Linked DNA regions of Homo sapiens: region 1 is linked to region 2. The links are contacts of gene promoters, found by promoter capture Hi-C in blood cells and fetal thymus (Javierre and others, 2016). All regions are on one chromosome and are shown on one strand. The core of a region is centred on a gene start or on the middle of the fragment in contact, and the rest is flanking DNA. Distances in the headings are between cores, read along the strand shown. Region 1 overlaps LOC124901975 (a long non-coding RNA gene). Region 2 holds the start of OSGIN2 (oxidative stress induced growth inhibitor family member 2).

Region 1 (6,146 bases), core at 1,188-3,687, 560 kb after region 2:
GCTAGATAGACAGCTTTAATTTTTCTTTCATTAATGAATACTTAAATTTAGTTTATACCTTTTACACAAAGACACAGGTAGGATTTAGGAATGGATTTTATTCTACTTTCAAATATTGGCTTTGTCATTGTAATTCTGTATTTGTCAGGTTCAGAAGTAGTTATGTGACTTTTGAGCCACCTGGTACCACTGCTTTAGTTTGGGAGGAGCTGCAGAAATAGAATCCAGCGTTTTCAGACCAATCATTCCTGATTCTGACTTTTAGTTCAATCTTAGACATCTGTCATGTGAGTTTACAGTGAGAAGATGGCCATCTATGAACCAAGAAGTAGGCATTGTCCAGACACCAAATCTGCTGGCACCTTGATCTTGGGACTTCCCAGCCTCCAGAACTGTGAGAAATAAATTTATGTTGTTTATAAGCCACTCAGTTGGCTGGGCGCAGTGGTTCACGCCTGTAATCCCAGCACTTTGGGAGGCCAAGGCGGGCGGATCACAAGGCCAGGAGATCGAGACCATCCTGGCTAACATGGTGAAATCCCGTCTCTACTAAAAATACAAAAAAATTAGCCGGGCATGGTGGCGGGCACCTGTAGTCCCAGCTACTCGGGAGGCTGAGGCAGGAGAATGGCGTGAACCTGGGAGGCAGAGCTTGCAGTGAGCCGAGATCACACCACTGCACTCCAGCCTGGGCGACAGAGGGAGACTCCATCTCAAAAAAAAAAAAAAAAAAAGCCACTCAGTTTATAGTATTTTGTTAGAACAACCCAAATAGACTAAGACAGACATTTGTGTATAATTTCTGACATATTAAAATGGATGCAACATCAAAGACTAAATTTAATTACACTAGAAGTAAGCCAGCCATGTATTCAAAAATTGCATGTGTTTCATCAAATGTTGAGTTTTAGAAGGAGCTATGGACCAAAAGCAAGACTTGTAACACAAGTCTGAATTTCACCCCTTGTTGGCTGTGTGAACTTACACACTTCCTATAAATTCTCTAGGCCAAGTTTCATAAACTTTCTTTCTTCCCAGTAAGTTAGGGTTGAGGTTGAAAATTTGGGCATTAGGTCAGGTAGTCTGATTATGGATAAGTTATGAAAGCTTAATAAGTGATAATGGTGACATAATATATTACAAAACACTTAGCATACTGGTCAATAAAAAAGTGGTAGCTATAATTATTGTTCATAGCCATTTAATTATTATTCATAACAAAACAATATAGAATTACATAATTGGTACTTTATCATTATTGCAGAAATGTGTTGACTGGAATAATAAAATCACTAATAGCATGGATGTAAAGCTTGGCCAAACACCAGGCCTGCAGTGACAACTAAAGAGAACTTGTCAAAAAGATACTCAAGAGGCTGCTATTCAGGGAACCCATAGGGGCACAGCAGGATTCACTGTTGCAAGGATACCACGTTAAGTACAGGCAGGTATTATTTGCCAGCCCAATTTGCAGCAATCAGGACTCAGCGATGGTCTCCTAGGGCCAGTCATCACTGAGATGTCTAGGCCCTGAGGCACTTGGTGCTGTTGCTACCACATGTAACAAGAAATAAAGATACTTGGTGGAGACTTTGCAACATAATGTACCCAATATTTTAAATCTTTTATTTTGCAACATAAAATACATCACATTTTACCTACCTAAATCAATAGAGAATGTTATTTGCTGTATCATATATCACAGCCACCAAGGTTGGATGATGAGCTACAGCCAAGAATTCCTACCCAGGGTGGGAGATTGGACCAGTTGGAATGTAAAGATTTCCTCAGACTCGAGATTCTGTGATTATATAATCATTGAAAGTTCAAAATTATTTTCAACTAAAGCAGTTATCATGAAACCTGTCACCAATTACTAAGTTCTACAGTCACTACATATATATACGCACATATATTAATTAATTAAATATATATGTACTTAATTCTGGAAAGAAAAAGGATGCAGCTGACTCTAATTGTGGCTGCTTGGATGAGAGTCACACGTGAGTTAGTAAACATGATGCATGGTTTGAAAAAGCGGATTAAGCTCTGTTAGAATTAAATGATTATTTTCTTGGAAAATATGTTAGTGACAGGTAAATCAAAATTAGGTTGCTGAGTAAGGCCCCAGACTACACTAAAGGGCTTTGACAATACTAATCAATATTTATTACACTATATTGACTTTAAAAAATTAAATTTTAAAAAATTAACCACAATGAAGTTAGGATACATCTTAAAAGCAATGACAACTCAAAATTACCATCAGTCATGGGATAGACATGATACAGTTGTGTGAAAACCTTTTGGTAAGATAAAGAAAACTCCAGCATCAATATGTATGAAATTTGATGAAATACAGGTCAGTGCCCAGGGGTATAATGTGGCAGTAATGGGAGCACTATGCAGAATGTTCCAGTCTGCTTGTTCTTTCCTGAACTGGATGGGCTTTTTGGGCAGTAAAAGAGGTCATGAAAAGTTTGTTGTAGACAAAACACAGACGAGCACAGTGGGTAAAGTTGTGGGCTTTGGATATAGAGAGCTCACTCCAAGTGCCTCTCCTGCCATTCACTAGCACTATGTATTTGCCATGCTCTTTAATCTCTGCACATCAGTTTTTTTTTTTAAGTGGAAATGCTAAAAATAGTACTTAACTCATTGATATGTAAGAATTAAATAAGATTATCCATTTCAGAGTTTAGCTTAGTGGGACACAGTAAGAATTCAATAAATATAAGCTCATTGAGCTTTCTAATGCTTTTGTGCAAAAGCCATATTTAGGAAACAAGGCTCAAGGGCTGCGTCAGCTCCTGCCTACGGAGTTGACATTTGTTGACTCTGGACACAAGAATGGAAATGTGAAAGTACAATTTACGCAAAGATCTGATTGAGTTTGTGGACAAGCAACCCATGACATAATTTTGATAGCTGATTATTGCTCAGTAAGTGATTTGACTCTTGAAAAAGAATGCTTTTATTAATCCACTGTTAAACTGCAATTATTAGCTAGTATTGAAATTTATATTCTTCCTGTTAAGTAACCCCCAAACCTAAAAATTTAGACCAGAACCAAATATTTCAATTTTTACAGCACACCAGTGCTGTAAAATACTTTGTCTCATTTAGCTTTAGGTCAGAATAGCTACATATTGCTAAGGCAATGAATGATGGTTACCAAGTGTTTATAAAGTCCTTGTACAAGTTTAAAATCAAATAACTTTGAATGGACACAATGGAGACAACTGTAAGCACCATATGGAAGCATATGATTAACATGCTAATATTCTGAATGCACATTTTAATGTTTTATTTTATTCACAAATCATACACAATGGCTGTGAATACTTTTTTGAGAGCGCACCAGTTGGTGAATATTCTTTCATAATGTTGCAGTATTTCTTTATTATGAACCATGAAAATGGGGCCTTTCCAACAGCAACTTCCTCAAGCAGCAATGTGCTTACTTACAGGATGCTTCAAATATGCAACAAAAGAATGATAATGACTTTTCAAGAGGAGCGAATTTGTAGGAGGACAGAATTGCTTATCCATATACTTTCACCCAAGCTTTCCCATTTGGATAATTTCTATTTCAAGGAGTTATCTTAACCCTATGAAATGCATCATAGCCATAAAAAAATCAAATGCTTGAGATCAGTAACTCAAATTTAATTCAGGACATAGCATCAACTGGAGAGTACTTGAGCAAGTTGGAAAATCAGAATTCAAGGTGTTTTATTACAGATCTCACAGTGTGCAGTTCTCACTAGTTATTCACCTCCAGAAGGAAGTCCATCCTCTAGGAGGCTCTTCTAAACATGCATAGGCATAGTGTGGAAGCCATCACACTCTTAATACCACACTATATATTTGAGGCTTTGATCAGATTTAAATAAAGACAGTATTAGAATGAAAACCTTACTAGATTTTATTGTTTGTTACCCATCAGAAAGCAGAGCAATTATACACAAAGCTACATATTTGAGCCATGGTCTTAAAAAAATCTGTAAAGTATATGTTCAAGTGACATTCACAACTTTTTTTTTATCAGGAGTACATAGGTGTTTCTGAAACTCAATTTCACATATTCAATACACTACAACCTGAAAGGACACGGATTTTTCTGCTTGAACATAGCAATGAAATTTCTTAGCTAAATCTTTTAGGCACATGTTTTCCTTCTAATTATAGGTGTTCTAATATGTACATTGTTATTTTACTGCTAAAAAATTACCATTTGTTGAGCTATTACTATGGGTCAAATGCTGAGTTAAGTGCTTAATGAATATATTTGCTCGAAAAATATCCACAATGTCTCTATGAGGTGGTTATTTCTTTTATCAGATGAAGAAGAGTAAAGACTGTTTAAGCAGCCTGTTAAAGGCCAGCCATGAGGCTATAACTGACAGAATGGAGAGTCAAACCCAAGACTGAGATGGCCATGTATACTGTGAAAAAGAATTTGGGTTTTTTAAAAAATGCCGTGAATATTAAGCAGGTTACTGAAGGTGTTTTGGCAAGAGAGAAAGAGAAGAGAGTCTGTATCTTGAATATACCCAAAACCCCACCTGCAGGAATGATAAAATCCTTGGGCTAGAAAAAACATGAAGCTCATTGGCACAAAATGTCATGATGTTCATCTTTCCAGGTCCCATGTCACTCTCTGCTACAGAATACTAGCAATATGTACTCCTTGCTTTCCTAGAAGAACATGATAATAAGATCTTTCTGCCTCCCTTTGCAGTATTGTTTGCAGCCACTCATCACCCCACTGGCTGCTCCCCAGACACCTGAGTAGCTTTCTGTTCCACACACTCGCCAGTATCTTGTGTATGTATTGCAGGATCTGTATACACAGTTCCCTGTGCCTAGACTTGTTAGCACCTCTTCGTCCTTCAGATCTGGGTTGTCCTTCCCCAGCATTCTATTTTCTCTCACAAGGTCTTAGTTTGAGTTCCCCTGAGTTCCTCACTAACCTATGAGCCCTGAAACAATGAGAACCCAGATTTTTGTGCATCATTGTTTCCTTAGCAGCCTGACCATGTTTCCTGGCCTGTAATCAGAACACAATAAATGTTGCTGACTGAAAAAATGTAATTGATTTAAGCTTCCCTACAAATCTTTCAATTTATGTTAATTGTGAGAAGCTCAGCATCTTCTCAAGGGCTTTTTCTCATCCCCGCAGTGGAAGCCTCTTTAAGCAAGTCTCTCTTCTCTGCATATGTAGGCTTTAGCTCTGGGGAACCTCAGCCTTCTCTGTCTTCAAGTTAGGGGTGATCAACCTACAAAGTACCTTGTGTCTTCTCTGAGAATCACATTCCTTTTCTGCTGGGATTCTCTTTACCAGAAGAGGTGGATTCACTCCCCAGTTATCGAGGATCACTTGTGCAGGAGTCAGAATTGTCATTCTCATAGTGGCATCTTTGATCATTCAATAGCTTACTCTTGGACCCATCGTACAAAATTAAGGAACAAAATAATCCAAAAATAGTCATGGTTTGCACTGTCTTCTAAGTTTCAAGCACAATAATTAGGTATGGGAGACTCGTGCATTCATCAAACCTCACTAGACATTAGGCTCTTGGAATGCTAGGATGACTTGTCATTCTCATCCTCCTCCTCATCATCATCACTGTCATCACCAAAAATAACAGTTATCATTTTTAAACACCTACTATGTACAAAGGACTGTACTAGAACTTTTATCTATTTTGTCCTTACAACAGCTTTATAGAATGGGCATCAGCCCTCTTTGAAAATGAAGACATTTCTGCTGAGAGTGAATTATCTAGCCCAGGTCACTGAGCTAGTACATGAAAGGGCTGTACTGCCTTTCATCTTTTAATACCCAGCAGCTAGCACAATGCCTGGCATGTAGCAGGCACTCACCCAGTAGAAACTGAGTGCCAGGGCTTCACCACATGCTGGGATACAGTGAAACTCAAAATAAAGTAAATGACCCCAACCTCTGCCTGTCATGGGCTACTTTACCTGTGCCTACAGCCACCCTATGCTATGCTAGACCTGGTTAACCAGATAGAGAGATAACTTAGAACCTATATTATGGCCACCATAATATAGGTGGACATAGGGCATATGACATTGGTGGAATAACATAGCCAGAAAGTATTGGAGGAGAGAAGAGA
Region 2 (6,187 bases), core at 1,251-3,750:
CAAGATTTGGAAACAACCTAAGTGTCCATCAATAGACAAATAAAGAAAATGTGGTTTATGTACACAACGTAGTAGCATTCAGCCATAAAAATGAATGAGATCCTGTTATTTTCAACAAAATGGATGCAACTGATGTCACTACTTTAAGTGAAATAGGCCAGGTACAGAATGACAAACTCTGCATGTTCTCACTTATTTGTGGGAGCTAAAAATTAAAACAACGGAACTAACAGAGAATAGAATGATGGTTACAAGGCTGGGCAGGGTAGTGGGGAATTAAGGGGCAGAGTGGGGATGGTTAATAGGTACAAAAGTATAGACAGAATTAGATCTAGTATTTGACAGCACGAGAGTGACTAGTCAACGATAATTCATTGAACATTTTAAAATAACTAAGTATAATTAGATTGTTTGTAGCACAAAGAAAGGATAAATATTTGAGGTGATGGATACTCCATGTACCCTGATGTGATTATTACTTATTGTATGCCTGTATCAAAATCTCATGTACCCCATAAATATATATACCATGTACTCACAAAAAATAAAAATTAAAAATTAAAAGAATTATCTGGATTGGACTGGCATAGCTTTCAGGAATTTATATGTTTATTTTTAATTTTTTTGGTTACATAGTAGGTGTATATATTTAAAAATACGGAACGCTTCACGAATTTGCGTGTTATCCTTGGGAAGGGGCCATGCTAATCTTTATATTATTCTAATTTTAGTATATGTGCTGCAGAATTAAGCACTGCTTTTAGGAATGTAGGTACTTTATTTATTTATTTTTGAGACGGAGTCTCGCTCTGTCGCCCAGGCTGGAGTGCAGTGGCGCGATCTTAGCTCACTGCAAGCTCCGCCTCCCGGGTTCACGCCATTCACCATGGTCTCGATCTCCTGACCTCGTGATCTGCCCGTCTCGGCCTCCCAAAGTGCTGGGATAACAAGCGTGAGCCACCGCGCCCGGCCAGGTACTTTATTATTATTTTTTGATACGGAGTCTCACTCTTTGGCCCAGGCTGAGTGCAGTGGCGCGATCTCAGCTCACTGCAACCTCCGCCTCCCGGTTTCAAGCGATTCTCCTGCATCAGGCTCTTGAGTAGCTGGGATTACAGGCGCGTGCCACCACGCCCGGGGCTAGGTTTTGTATTTTTAGTAGAAACGGGTTTCACCATGTTGGTCAGGCTGGTCTGGAACTTCTGACCTCAGGTGATCCGTCCGCCTCGGCCTTCCAAAAGGAATTTAGGTACTTTAAAATGCTGTTATGTATGTTAACGGAAAAGTAACTACATGCTTCATTTTCAGAACCAACATTCAAATGAAATGAACGTGTCAAATCGACAAAAGCTCAAAAAAGAGAAAAACATATAATACTTAAAAGTGGTTAATATACTCTTAGATTGCATAACTCTGGGGCAGTCTGAGTCCTATGATTTTCTTTTAAGACCCCAAGACTCTAAAATACCTGCTCATCACAAGTTTGTTCAGTGACAACATTCAGTAAAACTTAACATTTGTTTTACAAAATTATGTTGAAAGATATAAACATAAACGTATATTTGAAGCACAAAAATAATTACGGCTTTTTTTGGAAGCGGAGTTAGACATTTCCGTAGAAAAGTAGATGCAATCAATCTCTCCTGATTTTTGTCCTCCCCACCTTTAATTTTTGACAAACCGAATAACGACACTCACTATTGAGTACTTTTCTAACTCCCTATTGCATCACAAACGCCCGCAGGGGCTTAAAAAGCAGCAGGGGTTCCTGCCCTTCCCCACACTGGCCGGTGTGGTCTGGGGCGGGCCTGATGAGCACCTGGATTTTCACCCGGCGTGCTGGTAATTCCTACACTTGTGGGTGTTTGAGAGACATGAAGAGGGGAGGATGACCTCTTCCCGGAAGCGGGACTTCCATAAAAGAAGCGTGGTGGGCGGGTCCCGGGCACCTGTGGTTTGGTGAGTCCTCCAGGTAACTGTGATGCGGGGGTCAGCGGGAGAGGCACCCGGAAGCTCCCGGCGTCTGCACCCCGGCAGCGCGAGGAAATGCCCAAAGGTGGGTTCTCAGGCGTGGGAAGCTCGACCCTTCCCGGGGTCCTCGGCGAAGTGGCCGAGGCCGCGCCTTACGCAGGGAACTCCGCCGGGCCATCTGGGTGGCCCGAGTTCGCAGCAGCTTCTCTTCCGCTCGTCCCTCGGCCCTCTCGACGCGCACCCACCGGCCTCACCAAGTCGCACGCAGAGGGGCGGCGGGGCGCTGACCGAGGTCTAGGTCTCGATTGCCGCCGGTCGAGCCGCGCAGTTTGCCTGCAGACCTCGGTCCCCTGCCCGCGCAGCCTCGGCTCCATCAGGCCCGGCCCCTCGCCCGGGCCGTGGCTCCACCAATCGCAGACTTCGCCCGCCGCAGCCGCACCTGCGAGGAGGGGCCCGCGCGCCGCTGCAGCCGCCGTCGCAGCGTCCCCGCCCCGCTCCGCCCCTATCGCGGCGCCCCGAGATCACCCGCCTCCGGCGCCTGGCTCCCTGCAGGCGAGGAGCGGAAGCCGCTATCTGGAGGCGGACTCCGGCGCCACAGAGCCGGGGCAGCCGCGGCAACGGCGAGGCGCGAGGCAGGGGCGCCCGGCAGACCCCGCGACCCCGAGCCAGCGGGCGCCCCGAGCGGGCAGCCTCGCCGGGGGAGGCGGAGGCGGCCACGGCGGCCGCGCTCGGGCGCCCCTCGCGCAGCGCTCCATGCCCGTGTGGTGCTGCCGCTGCTCCCTGGCCGGTCATTTCAGGTGACTTCCTCGCCGGGGATGGGAGGGGAGCAGGCGGGGATGCCGCGCTCTCGAGCTTTTTGGCCTGGCCCGGGCCGGGACCGGGGTGGAGGGCGAGCGCCTGGACCGCAGCGTCCTCCCGCCTCGGCCGTCCTGCCTGGCGTGGGGGTGGGGTGGGGTGCGGTGTGGTGGGGTCCTTGCTCCGGGGAGCCCTGCGCTGTTCCCTTTTCTCGCTCTGGACCGCGCGGGTCACGGGACTGCGGGATCGGCTAGGCCGGACTGAGTCGGTTACGGCGAGCTGAGACTTCCCAGTAGTGCAAAGTTTTAGTGAAGGGGGTTCTACGAAGTGCCTGCCTCCCTAAAAAAAAATTATTTCTTAAAAAGTCTTCTAAATAATGTAATGAGTGGAAGGAAGGTAGGGAACTACATTTCAGTGTCATCTAATCACAAATAGATTCTGCCTTGTTAAGATGTTAGCCATGGTAAGACGTGTGTGTTGTAGAAATTTAAAGAATGAGGCGGTTTTACAATCACCTTATGGGGAAAGGTTTTAGGGGTGATAAAATATAATACATTTCTAAAATAAAAGTATGTTTTCTAGATCTAGCACATTTGGTCAACACCTCAGTCATTGGTGGAAAGACCAGACACTAGAAACTGATTTTAACCCTGGGGTGAAGAATGGTTAAGCATAGGGAATACTTTAGTACCTTGCTTTACATATACTGATGTTCCAGAATAATTCTATGTAAGACTTCTTCCCTGGTAAAATATGAAATTTTGATCAAGCCTTCCTAAATAGTGGGTTTCATACAATTTAGGTAACCCATGAACTTGGATGGAAAGAAAGGTATATCATTTCACTAAATTTTAAAAACTAATATTCAGTTAAAATATAAGCAACAAATCACAGTAGTATCTGTGACTGTCATCAGTAGAGATCATAAAATATGTTTATATCACATTGCAGTTAATATAGAAATACTGTTTATACTTATTCAAAATTATAGTAACACATCACTGAATTTATTGAATGCAACAGAGAAGCACATATATATATCGCGTTTACTTTTTATGACTGTTTTAATAGAATTAGTTTTCTTGTAAATCCTGTGTATATTTAAGAACAGTATTCAGAGAAGAGGTTAAGAAGCGTCATCCTATAGTAAAAGAGATGTAAGGCATAGAGAAAGTTTGGAACTTCTTTTGTAACAGCGATAATCCAAGCTTGTCTAACCTCTCAGTGAGTTTAGAATGAGTCTCTAGGTTGTGGATATTAAGGAAAAATTGTTTCATATAATAAACTGCTTGATTTTAACTTTTAGGCAAATTTGTTGACTACTGAGACAGCGGTTTGAAGGTATCAGATTCACTATGGAAACTTTTAGGAAATAGGTTCCCCTAGTGAAACTTGTTAAACTAAATAAAGCCCATGAGAATCTAACATGCCTTTCAGAAAATATTGTGTGAAAGCTATTTGACACCTTTTGATGCACAGTGTAGGATTCATATTCTTTTGACTAATACTGGGTGTTGAATACCATTTGCTTCCTGCCGTGCACAGAAATTTGGAGTAGGGAGTGAAAACAAAGTATTTGCTATGTTTTGGTCTGGAGGGACAGAAAGAAAAACAAGCTAGCTGCCAAAGATAAACATTATGATTAATAAACCACACTTTTTATTGCAAAAACAGTTCTGTTGTGTCTAAAGTATTTTTTTTTTTAGTTGTTTACCAGCTCCTTCAGGAATATGTTTCTGATTTACCAGTGCTATTTCTCGAGCAGTTTCAGGTCAGTTCAGGTCATCCTGGCCAACATGGTGAAACCCCGTCTCTACTAAAAACTCAAAAATTAGCCGGGCAGGGTGGTGTGCACCTGTAATCCCAGCTACTCGGGAGGTTGAGGCAGGAGAATAGCTTGAACCCAGGAGACACGTTGCAGTGACCTGAGATCGCACCACTGCATTCCAGCTGGGCGACAGAGTGAGACTGTCTCAAAAAAACAAAAAACACACAAAAAAACACAGATTATAAAACAGGTTGTGACATCTATTGTCTAACATCTGAATGGATAAGTAGTGAGAGAACTGTCCACTAACTTTCCAAAGGAAAAAACCTCTTCCTTCGTGTTCTGGAAGATGAAGAGTGTGACTGACTTCATTTGTGGCTTTAGAACCTTCTTTCCATGTGGTAGTATAAATTTGGTAAATTTTAGGTTCATGGTTCCAAAGACTATAAAAATTCAGTTAGTAAAGCATTTCATTTTAGTTTGAATGATCATTTAAACAAGTACTGCTATGGTATGGAAAAAGTCTTTTTGTTATCCTGATACTATGTCCACACTATCCTTTGAAATGTTCTCTGAAACTTTGTGCTGTAATGTTTCAAAAACAAAAAATGGAAGGCCTCTAAAAGCATCTTAAATGTCAAATAGGCTTTTAACTTGCTTCCTAACAATAGAGTAACTAATTTTGCATGTAAAGTGCTGTTCTTTACTAGTTGCTAAATGTAATTGTACATATTTTCCAATTTTAATTTGTGCCTCGAAGAAAAAGTAGATTTTTATTACTCAAAATAAGCTCTTGTTTTAAATAGAACAAATATCAAATTGGAAATCTAGAGATTAACACTGTTCATAGACCTGTGATATACTGTGCATGTACTATAAAACATGTACAGCAATACTAAATTTATAACTTAAGCTCTGAATTTTTTAGAAAGAATAATTACTAAAAGTCTTGTTTCATTAATGTTTTATGTAAAACCAGTGAATCACACTTTCCGTTTTTGTTTCCTTGTTTTTCTTTGTGTTAAACCACTATCAAATAGGAGGCAGGTTTACTACAAATAGTTTATCACAGAGTTTATACCAGTGGCTCCTGAAAAATCAGAGCAGATTACCTATACTATGTAAATTTAGATAAGCTAATGTGTAGAGAATTTGGATAAACTAAACTTTGGTTCTTCATTGCTTGAGGGCTGCACATGCAAAAAACTACTAGACCTAATATATAAATTCAACGGTGTTGCAGGATGCAAAATCAACATACAAAAGTGAATTGTATTTCTGTACATTAACACTGAATAATTTAAAATGAAATTAACAAAGGTATTTCATTTATATAATAGCATCAAAAAATGAAATACATAAGAATAAATTTAATAAATGCAATACTTATGCACTGAAAACTACAAAATGTTGAGAGAAATTAAAGGTCTAAATAAATGGAAAGGAATTCTATATTCATGGATTGAAAAACTTAATATTCTGTTTTTTCTTTTAAGTACAGGGATGCAAGTTCAGGTTTCTTACATAGGTAAACATGTGTCATGGGAGTTTGTTTCATCACGCAGGTATTAAGCCTAGTACCCATTAGTTCAGGGGTGTCCACTCTTTTTGCTTCCCTGGACCACATTGGAAGAATTGTCTTGGGCCACACAT

What was found. Contacts are between HindIII fragments. The CHiCAGO score rates a contact against its expected background, and 5 or more counts as called.
Region 1: a contact is called between a fragment that was not itself captured here and the fragment with the promoter of OSGIN2 in region 2, in 1 of 17 cell types (total CD8 T cells). The highest score is 5.8, in total CD8 T cells.

What each region holds. Positions count from the first base shown.
Region 1 is chr8:90,457,470-90,463,615 of GRCh38, forward strand. All of the region lies in intron 3 of LOC124901975 (a long non-coding RNA gene), which reads right to left. Among named protein-coding and RNA genes, the nearest start is that of LINC01030, 150 kb to the right of the region's middle. The HindIII fragment of the contact is 2,255 bases long and covers 1,311-3,565 here.
Region 2 is chr8:89,900,070-89,906,256 of GRCh38, forward strand. It overlaps OSGIN2 (oxidative stress induced growth inhibitor family member 2), which reads left to right and starts at 2,501. Exons shown (of 6, transcript NM_001126111.3): 1 at 2,501-2,768. The coding sequence starts at 2,725. It overlaps LOC124901974 (a long non-coding RNA gene), which reads right to left and starts at 2,337. Exons shown (of 2, transcript XR_007061001.1): 1 at 1,950-2,337. It also overlaps the pseudogene RNU6-925P. RefSeq lists enhancers at 380-1,145, 1,146-1,911 and silencers at 2,205-2,503, 2,253-2,592, 2,623-3,072, 4,066-4,125. The HindIII fragment of the contact is 4,461 bases long and covers 1-3,972 here.